Regions from separate parts of the Homo sapiens genome. Here regions 1 and 2 are each linked to region 3. The links are contacts of gene promoters, found by promoter capture Hi-C in blood cells and fetal thymus (Javierre and others, 2016). All regions are on one chromosome and are shown on one strand. The core of a region is centred on a gene start or on the middle of the fragment in contact, and the rest is flanking DNA. Distances in the headings are between cores, read along the strand shown.

What was found. The method cuts DNA at HindIII sites, captures the fragments that hold promoters and counts their contacts. A CHiCAGO score of 5 or more calls a contact.
Region 1: a contact is called between a fragment that was not itself captured here and the fragment with the promoter of PALMD in region 3, in 3 of 17 cell types (naive CD8 T cells, M2 macrophages and neutrophils). The highest score is 5.8, in naive CD8 T cells.
Region 2: a contact is called between a fragment that was not itself captured here and the fragment with the promoter of PALMD in region 3, in 1 of 17 cell types (neutrophils). The highest score is 6.2, in neutrophils.

The regions. Positions count from the first base shown.
Region 1 is chr1:98,763,656-98,768,575 of GRCh38, forward strand. No RefSeq gene overlaps it. Among named protein-coding and RNA genes, the nearest start is that of SNX7, 100 kb to the left of the region's middle. The HindIII fragment of the contact is 842 bases long and covers 2,799-3,640 here.
Region 2 is chr1:98,740,448-98,745,488 of GRCh38, forward strand. The region is part of intron 8 of SNX7 (sorting nexin 7); the gene reads left to right. Among named protein-coding and RNA genes, the nearest start is that of SNX7, 81 kb to the left of the region's middle. The HindIII fragment of the contact is 3,758 bases long and covers 1,435-5,041 here.
Region 3 is chr1:99,642,959-99,647,784 of GRCh38, forward strand. PALMD (palmdelphin) reads left to right here and starts at 3,155. Exons shown (of 8, transcript NM_017734.5): 1 at 3,155-3,404. The coding sequence starts at 3,360. The HindIII fragment of the contact is 18,161 bases long and covers 1-4,826 here.

The sequences.
Region 1 (4,920 bases), core at 1,970-4,469, 880 kb before region 3:
ACAATTAGCAGAGCCTAGAGCTATTTTTTGTTGTCACACTTGGGGAGGAGGGTGCTACTGGTATCTAGTGGATAGAGGTAAGAATGCACAGTAGAGCTTCCAACTACAAATAAATTTTTAACCCCAAATGTCATTGCTGAGGCTGAGAAATCCTGGGCTAGATTAATGTCTGCTAGTAGCTCCTGGCTCTCCAGTGCCCAGCTTTGCTACTAGGAGGGAGAGAGCTATTCCCTTCCACCTTCAATTCAGTTAAAACTCTTGAGAGAAGAACTGGCTTGGGATACAGGCAAACCCCTTCTTATCCCCACCCCCAGGTCTGAGGTCAGTCTTTGTGGCTAGGAGCCAGTGTGCTATTATTATCATAGCCAAGGTCGGTTCCTACTTTTTTACACAAATTACAGTAGGCAGAAAAGTTATGACCAAAGGGAGATGGCAGTTTTCATTCAACCACCTTATGTGTTCACCATCTAAAGGAAGGGGCTGCTTTATCCAGAAGAAAGAAAAGTACTGGGGAAGATAGAGTAATACATGTCCACACGATAATTTTAAATGAACATACATTTTTATCTATCTAAAATTATATTAGTTCTATATATTTATATAATTAACACTTCTTACGCCTAAAATTCTTCAACAAGCAAGGACTCATGTAAAAATAGCTCTTCGAAGAATATCTATTCAAGATTACAAGTGTGAATAAACCATTAGTCCAGCACATATAATTACGTAGGAAGTCAATCATAATTGTGTTAGCTAAAAAATAGCACAAGACTGTGAAATTAGAGTTGTTAGTGCATTCATCTGTATTAAAAAATCAACCTTTACGTTAGAATTGATTGAATAAGGAGTTCAATATGTAAGAAATATTCTTATGTGGAAATACTGAATTAAGATTCCATTGAAACACATGAGTTGTTAGAACTAGAATTAAATTCTGAACATACTGTAAAAAAAAAAAGTCATTTTAGCATTTAAAATTCTGAGTTTGTGAGTTAACTATTCTAGGCCCCAATTTCCCATCTGTGGAAAAGGGGAATTAATCTGCCAGATCTACATTGCTGGAAAGTGTAAGAATAAATTAGAAACAGCTGACTTTGACTACTTACTTTGAATTTAAAAAGTTAAGTTCTGCCTCAGCTTCCCCTTGTTACCTATTAAATCTTTGAAACTCCGAATCCCTTCATAGGTGAATCCTGAGATAAAGCAAACAATAGTCATATTTACCAAGGCATGTCATAGTAAGATATGTTCAGAATGTCATGCATATGTGTCAATAGAAATAGATATAGATACATATTTAAGCTCATATTTATATACATGATATATATGTGTTATGTGGCGTGTTTGTATACATGTGTGGTGTGTGAATGTATATAGTGATCAGTGGAAAGACGGGAATAAAAATCAATGGAGCAGGAAGCCAACTGCATGCCTGCTGTTACTTATCTCCCAGTCTTCATGTGTTACAGTTCACCTAGGTTTGATTATGTATTTATGTGCCTGTTCATAAGGTTATTGTGCAGTGAGATCCCTTAAAATGGGACAGCTATTTAAATGTGTTTGCCATCACTTTTGCTTGTGTAATTCTTTAAGGCTATAATTACATACGTTCAATTTGTACTTCTGCAATTCCTGTTTATATTTCTCTTAATGTAAATCGTGAAGATTGAAGAGATTGTTTGTGCTTTTTATCTTAAAACATGACAGGGTAATCTTTTGGTAAGATCAGAAGAACAATGCTTTCCCATTTTAAGGGGAATCATCCCACAACATGCAATTTAATAACTAATCAGAGCTGGTTAAATGAAGTGTTTGATAATTAGGCATCAGAAATTTTCTTTTCCTACTTGAAGCATTATGATTACTGATTTTAAGATTAAATTAGTGTTGCTTTTAAGTGGTTTATTTGAACAATCTGAGATTCTAAATTCTTTTGAAGGACCTTGCATTAAAATATTATCCATGCATCCACTTATTCAGTAATTCACTAATTCCACAAATACTCCACTACTAATAGGTGCCAGACACCATCCTCTGTGTTGCTGTAAATAATTATGATAAGTAAACATACCCTACTCTCATAAAGCTAAAAGTCTAATGAGACAGACATCATACAATAAATAATAAATAAATCTCGATTAATGCATATATTATTTCCTAGGGATGCCTTATAAAAGTATCAAGAACTGGGTGGCTTACAACAATAGACACTTGTCTCACAGTTCTCAAGGCTAGAAGTGGGAAATCAATGTGTCTGCAGGACTGTGCTCTCCCTGATGGTTCTAGGGGTGAATCCTTCTTTGCCACTTCTAGCTTCTGGTGTTTGCGAGCAATCCTCAGCATTCCTCGGCTTGTAAAGGCATCACTCCAATCGCACGGACATCTTCTCCCTGTGTGTCCTCACATTGTCTTCCCTCTGTGTCCCTGTGTCCAAATTTCCCTTTGGCACAAGGACACATGTCTTACTGGATTAGGGCCCACCTTAATGACATCATTTTAATTTGATTGCCTCTATAAAGACCCCATAGTGAAATAAGGTCACATTCTGAGGTATTGAGGGTTAGGACTTCAACATATGTTTTTTTGGAAAGGAGACACAATTCAACCCATAACAATGCATAATTGCATATTGTGTGAAGTGCTGTGATGTAAGAGAGGTAATAATGTGGAGCATCTATTTTAAATTGAGTAGACAGTGAAGCACGACTTAAGACCGAGAAAATAAGAACAAACCAGGCAAAGGGGAGTAGATTGTGGCTGAGTGAAACAATGCATGCAAGGGCCCAGAGATGGGAAAAAGCTTAATGCATAGGAGGAAGTGAAAGAAAACCAGGGTGTCTGGGCTGTAGTGAGCAAGAAAGAAGAAGTTCCAAGATGAGTTGTTGAAACTTACCGGAATTTGTTGTTGTTGGTTTATTTTTTTGTTTTTTTTTTAGGAATTGTGAGTGATTACCAGAACTTGGTTGGGGATAGCGTGAACTTCTAAGGGACTCAATCAATATGGTTTTTATTACCTCCTTTATAGTGAGTGACAAAGGTGGGGATATTGGAGAACATACGAAGCTAGGAACAGCGGAAGAATTAGGAAACCTAAAGCATAAATAAGAACATCAGTAGAACTAATAGAAATTCAAGATACCAGGCTTCAAATTGTCATAAGTAGTGTTCATATTCAGGGAGGTTTGTACTAGTACAGCCATACTTGTTATTTAACTATTTGATGCTATCCAGAGACATATGCCAGTAGGAAAAACAAATCATTTAAATACTTTGATAATAATTGCTAAATAGCTGCTGGCATAGGCCTCCAATCACCCCACTGACTCGTGTTCTAGAACTGTCCCCAGACAGATTGTCCCCAAGTTTCAGAAATGAAAATGTCTCATGAGACAGTAGGGGCCTAGGAGACCCCTGCATTAGCTCTTTATTCGGATTAGTTCTTTAGATTAGTTCACCCATGATACACTGGATATATCATAATAAGAACTTTCAAACGTGATATTCAGACATAAATATATAGAAAGGCATTTTTCTCTATATATAGATATGTCTCTATGTCCATATACATGTGCATGTGTGCAAAAATATATATGCAAATATGTTTGCACACTTGCATGTATTAGTGAAAATTAGCAGAATAAGCTTAAAAGTTAATTATTTTATATGTCTGTCTTTATATGCCCATAGTCTCTGAAATCTTAACGATCCACGGAGACGCAAAAGCGTTAACTGACAGGGTAGTTGTAGGGGCTAGAGACAGAAATGTAGCTGGGTAAACAAAGAAGCAGAAAATCCAATAAACGACCAGGTAGACTTTGATTCAGGCTGGTATTCACTTCCAAATTGGTCCCTTTCCACAGAGAAAATATAAGAAGTGGGAGGCTGAGGCAGAGGCAAAGCCCAATGTCCAGATAAACAACTGCATCCCCATTCCAGGAAAGCAGCTGAGACATAAAGGACAGGATCCACTGCACATGGGAGGGAGCTGGGGCAAGGTGGATTCCAGGCAGGTTCCAATGTAAGTGGAGGCATGGAAGGCTAACACTCTCAAATAAGTGGGATGCATTTGGCCGTGATAGGGAACTGACTCTAGCAGGTTAAAATGGAGAGAAAATGTATCCTCATTTAACTAGGAAGTCACTGAGTAGAGTGGGCTTTAAGATCAGCTTGATCTGATTGCTCCACCCCTGTTTCTCTGCAGTTCCCTGGTCTGTGAGCATGTTGCTTATTGGCTTCCTTTCCTTACAGTATGAAAGTGACTTGGTGGCTTTTAATTTTGTATCCATATACATGGTATAGAAAGGAAGCAGGAAGTTATCTTTTCCAATGGTTACTTTTTTAAGAATAGGAAAACTCTTTTCCAGAATACCCAACATTCTCCTTGTGTCTCATTTCTCCAAATTGAAATTTATGCCTATCCTGAACAAATCCCTGTGACTATTTTGTCACACAGTTGGCCTAGGCCTGAGTTTCTAAGCTAATTCCAAACTAGGGGAATGAGATTACTTTTACTCTATTTAACCTACTCCTGGATGTATTACCAGTTTTTAAAATTACTGTTTAGCAAAGGATCTTTTGCTTAGATTCTCTCTCAATTTTGTTGAAAGTAAATAATCAGAAAAGGATTTGATGCCCTGGTATTAGAGTGTCTCAGACTGGGAGGCAGACTCCAAGACAAAATTAGAAATGTCAAAGATTGATAGAAACTATGGGTATAAGAGATAAAGAAGACAGGGCCAGAGAAAGGCTTCAGACTGCCATGCAAGTCTGGATCTATGAGGGGAGAGGTGAAAGGAGAAGAAAGTTGGTTCAGAGGGCCTCAGAATACAGCACAATTCTCAAAAAGTCTTAGGCCAAAGAGATTCCCAGAGCAAAACTTTTCTGTTATGGATCCTGGCCTGGCAGAAGTGACCCCCAGCT
Region 2 (5,041 bases), core at 2,064-4,563, 900 kb before region 3:
CTATAAATGATTACAAAACCTAAGTATATTAGGGTATAAAAATCACATGACAAATGCACTTAATATTATTTTCCTTTAAATGTTAAGATCTGCCAATTTTTCTAAATTTGGATTTTTTTAAAAGTGTTCATAACAATTCCACAGAATTTCAACTAAAATGTTTGGGTTTTTACCGTACTTCTCACATAAAAATGTATTTTTTTTCAGTCTCATTGATTGAATTCAGTTTATACAAAATGTTCCTTTCTTAGAAACAGCTAAATGAGCATCGCTGTGCCATATTGCAAATTTTGTTTTTCACAGCAGTTTCTATCAGTGTGTGATGTTTTTAACTCTTTCCCCAAGTGTACTACATTTCTAAATGTTACAAAATTATATTGTGTCCTCCATCTTAAATGTATAAATTTGGAGGGATCATTGTTTCTCTTTTGTATAACTTCCAGAGATCCTTATAGCTCCAATTGTTTGTTGAATTTTTTCCTGAGTGGAAAACTTTTAACAGATTTGGCACATCAGTCCAGTAAAACAAAATCAAGAAGTTGGAGCCCTTAAATGATCAGGGATTCTTAGCAGAAAGATTAAGGCCTAAACAGCAACAATCTGTCACTAACTATTAATATCAGAAAATCTCAGATATACAGGGAAGTGAAATGTTCCAGAGGTCATTCATTTCCTGTTTAATTTCATCACATTCTAATGGAAATACTTCTTTTTTCATCAGTATTCCCAAAACGGTCTGTTCCTAGTGTGATGGATGAAACAGGGTATACATACATTTGCCTTTGGATTTACCTGTATTAAGTTCTGGTCACAGATTGTTTAGAAATTAAAAGTTAAATATCAAAATGGCAGAGGGAAATTATATTATAAATACATGGTATGGGTCTGTATCCAACTCCAGTTATTATCATATTGTGCAATAATTGTGTCATGTTATATTTAGAGGCATCTATTACATCTAAGAACATGTAATAATCAATGTCATGTTGTACTTAGATGTATGAATTTATTGGGAGAGAGTTGATTCTAAATCCAGAACAGGTGTCTCAAATGAAACTTTTACTAGGTAAAATGATGTTGTTCCCATTTTGTTCTGTATGACCAATAATTAAGGATAAATGTGTTGAGTCTTTTTAAACAAATGAATAACGAAACAATAAAATTACAAATCCATTTGAGCAGGGTGAATGATTTCAAAGTATATTGATACCCAAATAATGAAAGAAAATGACTTCCTGCTAATGTGAAGGGATTCTAAAACAGTAAAACATCCATGCCCTGGATACAGGGCATGGATATTTCCTAACTTTTTTCTTGAAGGTGCAAAAGAATATCTGCTTTGTTGCTGTCAATGCTGATGATGCTAATGATGAAGGCTTGAGAGCAAGTGATTCCTGGCTGATCTTATGAACTGGAAGAGCACATTCTTCTCAAAGCTTTATTTTAATATCATTGAATTCACTTGGCTATCCAATGTCCTCTTACAATTAGACTTTGAGGGCTTATTTGGAAATTCTGGCAGGAAAGTGCAGCTATTTAGGAACTGCTTTAGAATAGCTCTGGACTTGGCAACAGCTATTAATATAAAATAGAACAATTACCTTTTGTCAGTATGAGCACAAAAAATGGGGAACCATTTACCCAGTCCAGTGAAATCACCTTTGTTATTAAGGAGGTGACAGACAGCTCTGATGTCCTTTTGGTCATTTAATGTCTTTGCTTTCTTTGTCTCTAACACATCAGGGACAAGGTGGATAGTAAGAAAGGGTAGGGAATTCACAAATATTCCCAATGATGAGGGTAGGGCTAGTAAAGGGAGCTATGTTCAAAGGTGTCTATGGCACATAGCAGATTCTTAATGTGTGCCTGCTAAATTACCATTTCTGAGTACCTGCTGTGATCCGGCCCTGCTCTATATCTCACATGTGGCATCTCACATGACCGTATCTGTTACTCTTGGAGATAGCGCTGTCCTCTCTGCAGTCTTGCTGGCCCAAGTTTCTACTAATGTTAATTTTTGCCAAATTACGCAGTTTGTCGTTAAGTGAATATGATAAAGGAATATAGTTTATTCCTTTGCATAGCTTATTTTATAATATAGTTCATTCCTTTGAATAGTTTATTTTAAAATTATTAGTAAATATATGGAAATGCTTGTTTTATTATCTTATTTTTCTGGTTATAAAATTAATACAGGCTCACTGAAAACAATTACAGCAACAAAAGCTCAGTACACAAATGTATGATGAGGATAAAGAATACCCATATAATCCTTTCTCCTAGGGAGTGGTTCATTTAAATATAATTATAGAAAATAATTTGCTATTTTAAGATTAAATTATTGTTAGATTTTCTGCATGGGTCTTTGGAATGTGTCAGCATAAAAACACATATGTTTACTTATTTTGTGTCACAATGATTAAAATGAATAGTATTTTGAGTTCCATATTTTTCATTTATTTTACATATGTTTCCACATAGTGTCATAATTTTCTTATGATACATCATACTGATGTATATTTATTAGCTTAGATAATAATAGTTAAACATTTGTTTTTTTTCTTTTCTTCTATCATTACTATTAAAAATAATTATAAATATTAGCTTTTTGAAAACTTGGTAAGAATTTCAAGAAATAAGCAGGTCTATCTATGATTACTGCATTTCTTATTCTATCAGTCTTATTTAGGAATGTCAGTTCCCTCATGTAAACTCATTTATGTGAGATTCTGTTATCATCAAAGCCCTGTGCTAATAAACACAGGGGTGGCGTGGCATGGGGAGAGGTGATCCAAATTCACACTTAAGTCTTGCTGTTAGGAGGCTAAAGTTGATTAGGGAAAAATAATATATAAAAATATTTATTCATTTATTTGATTAATACAGCCCTAAAGTTATTTTTTTCTAATGGTGAAGTATTTAAATTAGTTTTTTTGCTTGATTGTAATGGATAGACTGAATAAAAGGTTCTACTCTTAGCAGATAACACAAATATATTTATATGGACATCTAGCAAGCAGAAAAACAATTCTAGCAAAGGAAAATTTCTGAAAGATTTTGAGGAAAAGAAAAAAATCGTTACAAGGGTATCTGTCTAGCCAGATGAACAGTACTACTAATGTTTTCTTAAAATCCAAGTCTAGTTATTTATGGCTCATTTAAAAATTACAGAAATTTTGTAAAAATAGATCTCACAGCAGTCCTCTAAAAACTAAGTCTGAATAAGCACTGAGTGTCCAGAAGGTTCTTCAAGTGTAGTTTTACTTATTTAGGGATTTATTTCTTGTTGTGTTGGGAAAATGGTGAAATAAATTCTAGTGACATGGTTGTTTGTTTTAAACTTAATACTACACTACATACTTCGGAACATTTTGTAGATTTTGTAAATATTTACTTGAAAACATCCTGGTCCAAATTAGGACAATTTCCAAGTATTCTGACCTTAAGAGGTTAAACTATATTGATAATGATGATAAAACTGCTACCTAAGCAAGATTTGGATGGATGGCATTTAGATTCCTGTCAGAAATTTCATTCTATTCAAAACTGAAAATCAGAAAAAGTATTGATATGTGCTCATCTGTGAGTTGAAAGGAGCAATGAGGGGAATAGTCTCCCTAGACTTAATTCTGATTAACAAAGAACTGTTATCTTAACATGACAGTTCCATCAGGAGACAGTACTATTTCCAGAATCTGGGAGGTGAAAGCAAAGGAAGGAAAATTTGGCCATTCTCAGTCATATTTCCTAGAATTTAGTAAAGTAGCTTAAAAAATTAGATAAAAGTTAGTTATACTTTCTCAAAATCATACACTCTAAATGAGAATATGACTTGAGAGGAGTGGACAATTCTAAAAAGTGAAAAGAATGAAGCAGGTGAAGAATCTGACACAATTGTACCTGTGGACCATGGATCATGGAAACAAAGATGATAGAGGAGGATACAGTCAAGAAGGAATACAGAAAAAAACAGGCAATGTCAGTGAAAGCATATGTCAGGAAGAAGAGAGTTTTGGGGGAAAAAATGTGAAGAGTTTCCAAACAGCACCAGAGTCAAATGAGAGTAGGTATGAGGAGCATCTCTGGAAGCAAGAAAATTAGGAATTAATATGTTACCAAAAATATTAATAAAAATGAATTGCTAGTGGAAACTGTGTAATGGAAACTAAGAAAACAGAACTAACTCATTTCTATTTCACTGCTGTTTTCTCCATGAAGGAGAATGAAAGTATAAGATGAAAGGATTAGGCAAATACAAATAAACGTTAACTAAAATCCAATACATTTGAAGAGGTAATAAAACAAAAACTATCCATTGCTGCAAAAAAGAGATGGCTGGGTATCTTCTGTTTTTCAGTGAGTGGTGCAAAAGCCCACCCTTTACCAACCTGAAAGCAGTACTTACAAAGCCCCAGTTGAAGCCCTTAATTCTAAATTTACTCATAGAAGGAAGACTGACAGACCTTTACTTACCCAGAAGAAATGCAGGCCATGTTACTTTCCTAGGTGAATCCTAAAATTACCCCCAGAGAAGGTTTTCAACAATACTGGAACAATGTTTCCAAAGTAACCTCCTCTGTAATTTCTGATACACACCATGCACAGTCATCTAATACTTGCTCAACCCTTTGTCAATAGCCTGTCTTAGAGAAGGATGGATATGGTAGGAGAGTTACCCAGATAGAGTTGTTCAGCATAGTTTTGAGCCTAAGAAATGGCAGGTAGTGTTTGAGTTTTCTTTTAAATTGTTGCAATAGAGGTGTAATAGATGGTCTGTATTGAATCATTTTTTTTTATGTTGGCCATAAAAAAGGCTCCTAGGCTGAACCTCTGTCAAGAGGCACATTCTTTAAAGTTAAATTCTCTTTCCTTATTATGAAACAAAGAAGTTGACTAGAGCTGGAATAATCCGGAGTTATCCAGGACAGGGAATTTTGAATCCATAACAAGGTGCATTTCTTTTTACAGTCATGCCTCCTAATAGTTACTGAAGCCTGACCTAAACCCTAGACCTCAGGAGACAGACGCCCTGATGGTGCTA
Region 3 (4,826 bases), core at 1,905-4,404:
GCCACCATCATCTCTCATCTGGATTACTGTAATAACATCCTATCTAGTCTTCCTGTTTCACACTTGCAAAACACTCCTCTGCTTAAAACACCTCAATGCCTTCTCATCCCACACAGACTAAAAGCTAAAGTCCTTACAATGGCCTACTGGACCCTGCATGAATTGGGACCTGTTACATTTCCAACCAAATTTCCTGTTAACCCTCTCTTAGTCCCAGCTCTCTAACCACACTAGCCTTGTTCATAAAACATGGCAGGTATGGCCCACCACAGGACATTTGCACAGGCCCTTCCTGATATGCTTTTCCCATAAATATCCTCATCACGAACTCTCACCTCTTCTTCAAGACCTTGCTCAAATATTGCCTTCTCACTGAGGCTACCTTAGTGACCCAATTCTAAATTGCAACATTCCCTGCCTTAGCCATCTTTATTCTCCTCCCTGCTCTATTTTCTTTCCATAGCATTTATCACTATGGCTGATGAGAAAGTGCCTCTCAGACATTGAACTCCAGGAGCATAATTGACCCAAGAGTCCCAAGCTGTTTCACTCTGAAATCCATTCCTATGTTTGCTTCAAGGCTATGCTTCCCAGGGGCTACTCCCAGCCAGTGACTGAGCATGGCAAGAATGCTAAAATTCCTGAGAAACACTGGACTACTTTGGTTGCTGACAACTGATGTGTCTCATCATGTGTTTATTCATTCATTTAGTTGACAATACTAATACTTGTTAATTTTTTAAGCATTTGTTATTCATTCTGCACATATTTATTGAGAACCTCTGATGTGTCAGGCACTGTGTTAGGTGTCTGAACAAAATTTCTCCTCTCCTGGAACTTACATTCTGGTAGACAATAAAAGATTAAGTAAACAAAATACAGTAGATGTGGAAATGATGATGTTATTCTGGATCCTATAAGAAACAAATGCCAAGATGGGTTAAATGTACAGAATTTTATTAGGAGAAATGACTGTATGAGAGAACATGGGAGGACAGGCAGAAAAGGCTGGAGCTGGACATGTCTAAGAGGCAGGTGAAAGAGAAAGGGAGGCGAAGTTGAGTGGAAACATCCTAATCTGTATTGCAGTCCAAGGGAGATTGTCAAGACCATCAGAGCTCTGGCTCCAGGATTCCACTCAGGTCCCCCAGATTTTCCCAGCTCCAGCCTTTTCTGCCTACCACTCACATGATGATACCAATCAGTTGTTGCAACTCTGCTCCCTCCTAAATTCCCATCCTCTTTTTTTAAATCTTGTCCTCCCCTACACTAGCAAAATCTTGGGTTTTCCTCTAGCAGAAATGAGATTTGAGAGGTAAATTGTTTTTAGGAAAAGATCCAGACTAATAATTGGATGACTGCCCATTTGTTCTAGGCACCAAATATGCAATTCTGACTGAGATATTTATCATTACTGCTTTCTTGTCTTTAATTTCAGCCAGGATCTACAAATAAACATAATCAGAAGTCTTGAAGGTTTGATTTTTTTTACACTTAAATATGTTTCCAACAGTAATCAAACTTGGCACACATCCAAACAATCCTCCCATTCTCTGGTCTCCCTAAGTATCCCTTCTGAGGGTGTATGAGCAAGGACAAACTACTCTCAAGTATAATTTCAGACTCTTAAAACATGGGTTTCACCTTATAGTGACTGACAGAATGAGGGCTCTGTGGTTGGGGAACTCCAGTCAACAATGTGGGGAAACCTCAGTAGGGCCAATAAGTTTCTCCAGAGGACATTCCCACACCGTTCTGCCTTAGGCTGTTACACCCAGCTGTAGTGTTCTAGGAGCTAGACAGAGAAGGAGGCTGGGGGTCCAACCACTTCTCATAAAGACTGACTTAACCTTCAGCCTGTGCCTCTCCTTGCCCCGTGTCCTTGGGCAGTCCTTGATGAATGCCACTTATAAAGTCAGGCAGCTGGTGTTCCAATCCTGGCTTTGCTACTTACTAGCTATATGGCAAATTACCTCTCTGAGCCTGTTCCCTCATTTTTAAAGTAGGGATTATAGCACTTATCTCTCAGCACTTTGCAAGTATGCATTTACCTGTAGAAAGAATGCAACAAATATTAGCTATTATTATTACTAATATCAAAACTGCAAAGGAAATTAAACCATATGTTCAATGTTTGGGTTGTCCTTTTAACCTCTTCAGCTGAATGTTGATATGAAAGCGCTTAATAGCATTCAAACACATAATAATAAGGTAGTTGGTAATTAGGATTTACTTCAGCAAAATTTAATTAAAGAACCTGTAGGGAAAAGAAAACAGACAGAGCCAATTGTACAGCTTCCCAGCCTCTGCTTTGACCTAAGAGTCTCACTGGGCTTGCCTGCCTTTTTCTAAAGGATGGGCGAATATTCACACAGTGCCGGGCTCCAGGCAGTTACCAAATGTCTCATCACATTTTCAAAGGCTCACTCCTCTCTCTTGCGTAACCGGTGAGGTCAAAATGGGCACCTTCCTGAAAGCCAAGAGTGTCATTTCTGAACAGCGTCCAAGAAAGAAAACTGCATTCCATAGAAATCCAAGTCAAGCAATAACAAAAGGTGGCACTTGGTGCTTAAGCCACACTAAATACCTTGGTGGGCCAACTTCTTAATATAGTCACATTAACACCTTTGATTTCTCCATGACCTAAAGATTCCAAAGTTTGCAACAAAGTGCTGAGCAGGGGGGTCGGGGGTGGGGTGTAGACGGGGGAGAACGAACCAATGTAAATTTACCACTACATGAAGTTTAAAGTAGCTATAGATTGTTGTATTATTATCAAATCCAATCAGTGGAAGAAAGGCAAACAAGTGACTTGGCACTTCTGCCTCAGTCAAGGTAAGGCTCTCTCCCCTAGAGCTAGCAAGCAGGTAAACGAGCTTTGTACAAACACACACAGACCAACACATCCGGGGATGGCTGTGTGTTGCTAGAGCAGAGGCTGATTAAACACTCAGTGTGTTGGCTCTCTGTGCCACTCCTGGAAAATAATGAATTGGGTAAGGAACAGTTAATAAGAAAATGTGCCTTGCTAACTGTGCACATTACAACAAAGAGCTGGCAGCTCCTGAAGGAAAAGGGCTTGTGCCGCTGCCGTTCAAACTTGTCAGTCAACTCATGCCAGCAGCCTCAGCGTCTGCCTCCCCAGCACACCCTCATTACATGTGTCTGTCTGGCCTGATCTGTGCATCTGCTCGGAGACGCTCCTGACAAGTCGGGAATTTCTCTATTTCTCCACTGGTGCAAAGAGCGGATTTCTCCCTGCTTCTCTTCTGTCACCCCCGCTCCTCTCCCCCAGGAGGCTCCTTGATTTATGGTAGCTTTGGACTTGCTTCCCCGTCTGACTGTCCTTGACTTCTAGAATGGAAGAAGCTGAGCTGGTGAAGGGAAGACTCCAGGCCATCACAGTAAGTCTGCATACAGTTATAACTCATTAACGTTGTTACTTAGAGGAAGGCAGACCGTGGCCGGCTGCCCCTGTCGCTGAGCCCTCGCAAGTGGAAAAACAGAACTGTCAGCCTTCATGGACGAGTCTCTGTTTCTCTCTTAACCCTCATGACCCTCTGTAACTCTGGGGCTTCAGAACCTGAGTGCAGGGCAAACGTTCTTGATTTTCAAAAAGGCTGTGCCTGCATTTTAAACAACAATCAAAAGCTGTTAAGGCAGTCTGATTAACTATCTTTCACACTCTGTGGTGTACCTTAGAAATGCAGTTTTTCCTTAAATGTCCATTTGACTGGCATTAGATAAAAAAACAGATCCCCAACTTGGAAACTTTTTTAAGCTATGAATGCCTCAAAAAGTTAGAATTTTTTTTAAAGAGAGAAAAAGAAATTTTAAAAATGACCTGAAACTTTATATTTGTAGTGTGGTAGCATGTTCCAGAAAGCCTAAAATAATTAAAATGAATGTTAATATACGTAATTTAAGCATTAAACAAGAGAAAACTAGGTAAAAGCACGTATCAGATTAATTCTAAGATATCAGTTTCCAGCAGAGTCACAAACTGAATAAGATCCTGATAAAGGAATGCAGTGCATGCAGTGGATTTGGAAAATATTTTGTTAATACCGAGAAGGAAAATCGTACATTTTTTATGTTTGTTCCGGGAAAAAGTCAAAGCCAGAAATAAATTACTTTTCTTAAATGATCCAGCTTTCTTTTTAATTTTATAAAACCCTGTATTTGGCAGTAACTTGGAAATCTGTGTCACAATCATTTATCCCTAGCTATAACTTTTGATGTAATTGTTTTAAGAAGAAAAAGATCTTTGGAAAGCAATATCCCAATTTCTCAGCATTTTCTGCCACTGACATTAGGTATAGGAAAAAAATGAGTACTTTTTAAAAACTGATGCTAGATCAGGGATTTTTTGTTGTTGTTCTTAAAATTTTCATTGCATAACTAATTATGCTAATCCTAATTTAGATTTTTTACTAATTGATACAATATCTTAGTTTCACCCAGGAAACATTCAGTAAATTGAAATGTCTTCTTAGCCAATAGTAAGACACCAGAAGTCTATTGATAAGGTTGGCACTTTTCCATAAAACAATGCTTTGTTAAATGTCTAGCTTCTAATTATTACATTTTCCTCTCTTCAGAAAACCTTGGTCGGGATTATTGTTTGTTTTGTTTTGTCCTTTTTTGTCATTAAACTCAGCCACCATCTCAGCTGTCCTGCTTTAAGGGACAGGAACTCGGCTCTGCTCTGTTGTTTTTGGCATGGGCCTTTTACATTACAGCTGTTGTCTAAAGGTTACTTTATTAGACTGCGTGAGTTGTGTGGTCACAGGCTCCACTATTTCTAATGCTTATATCTCCTAATT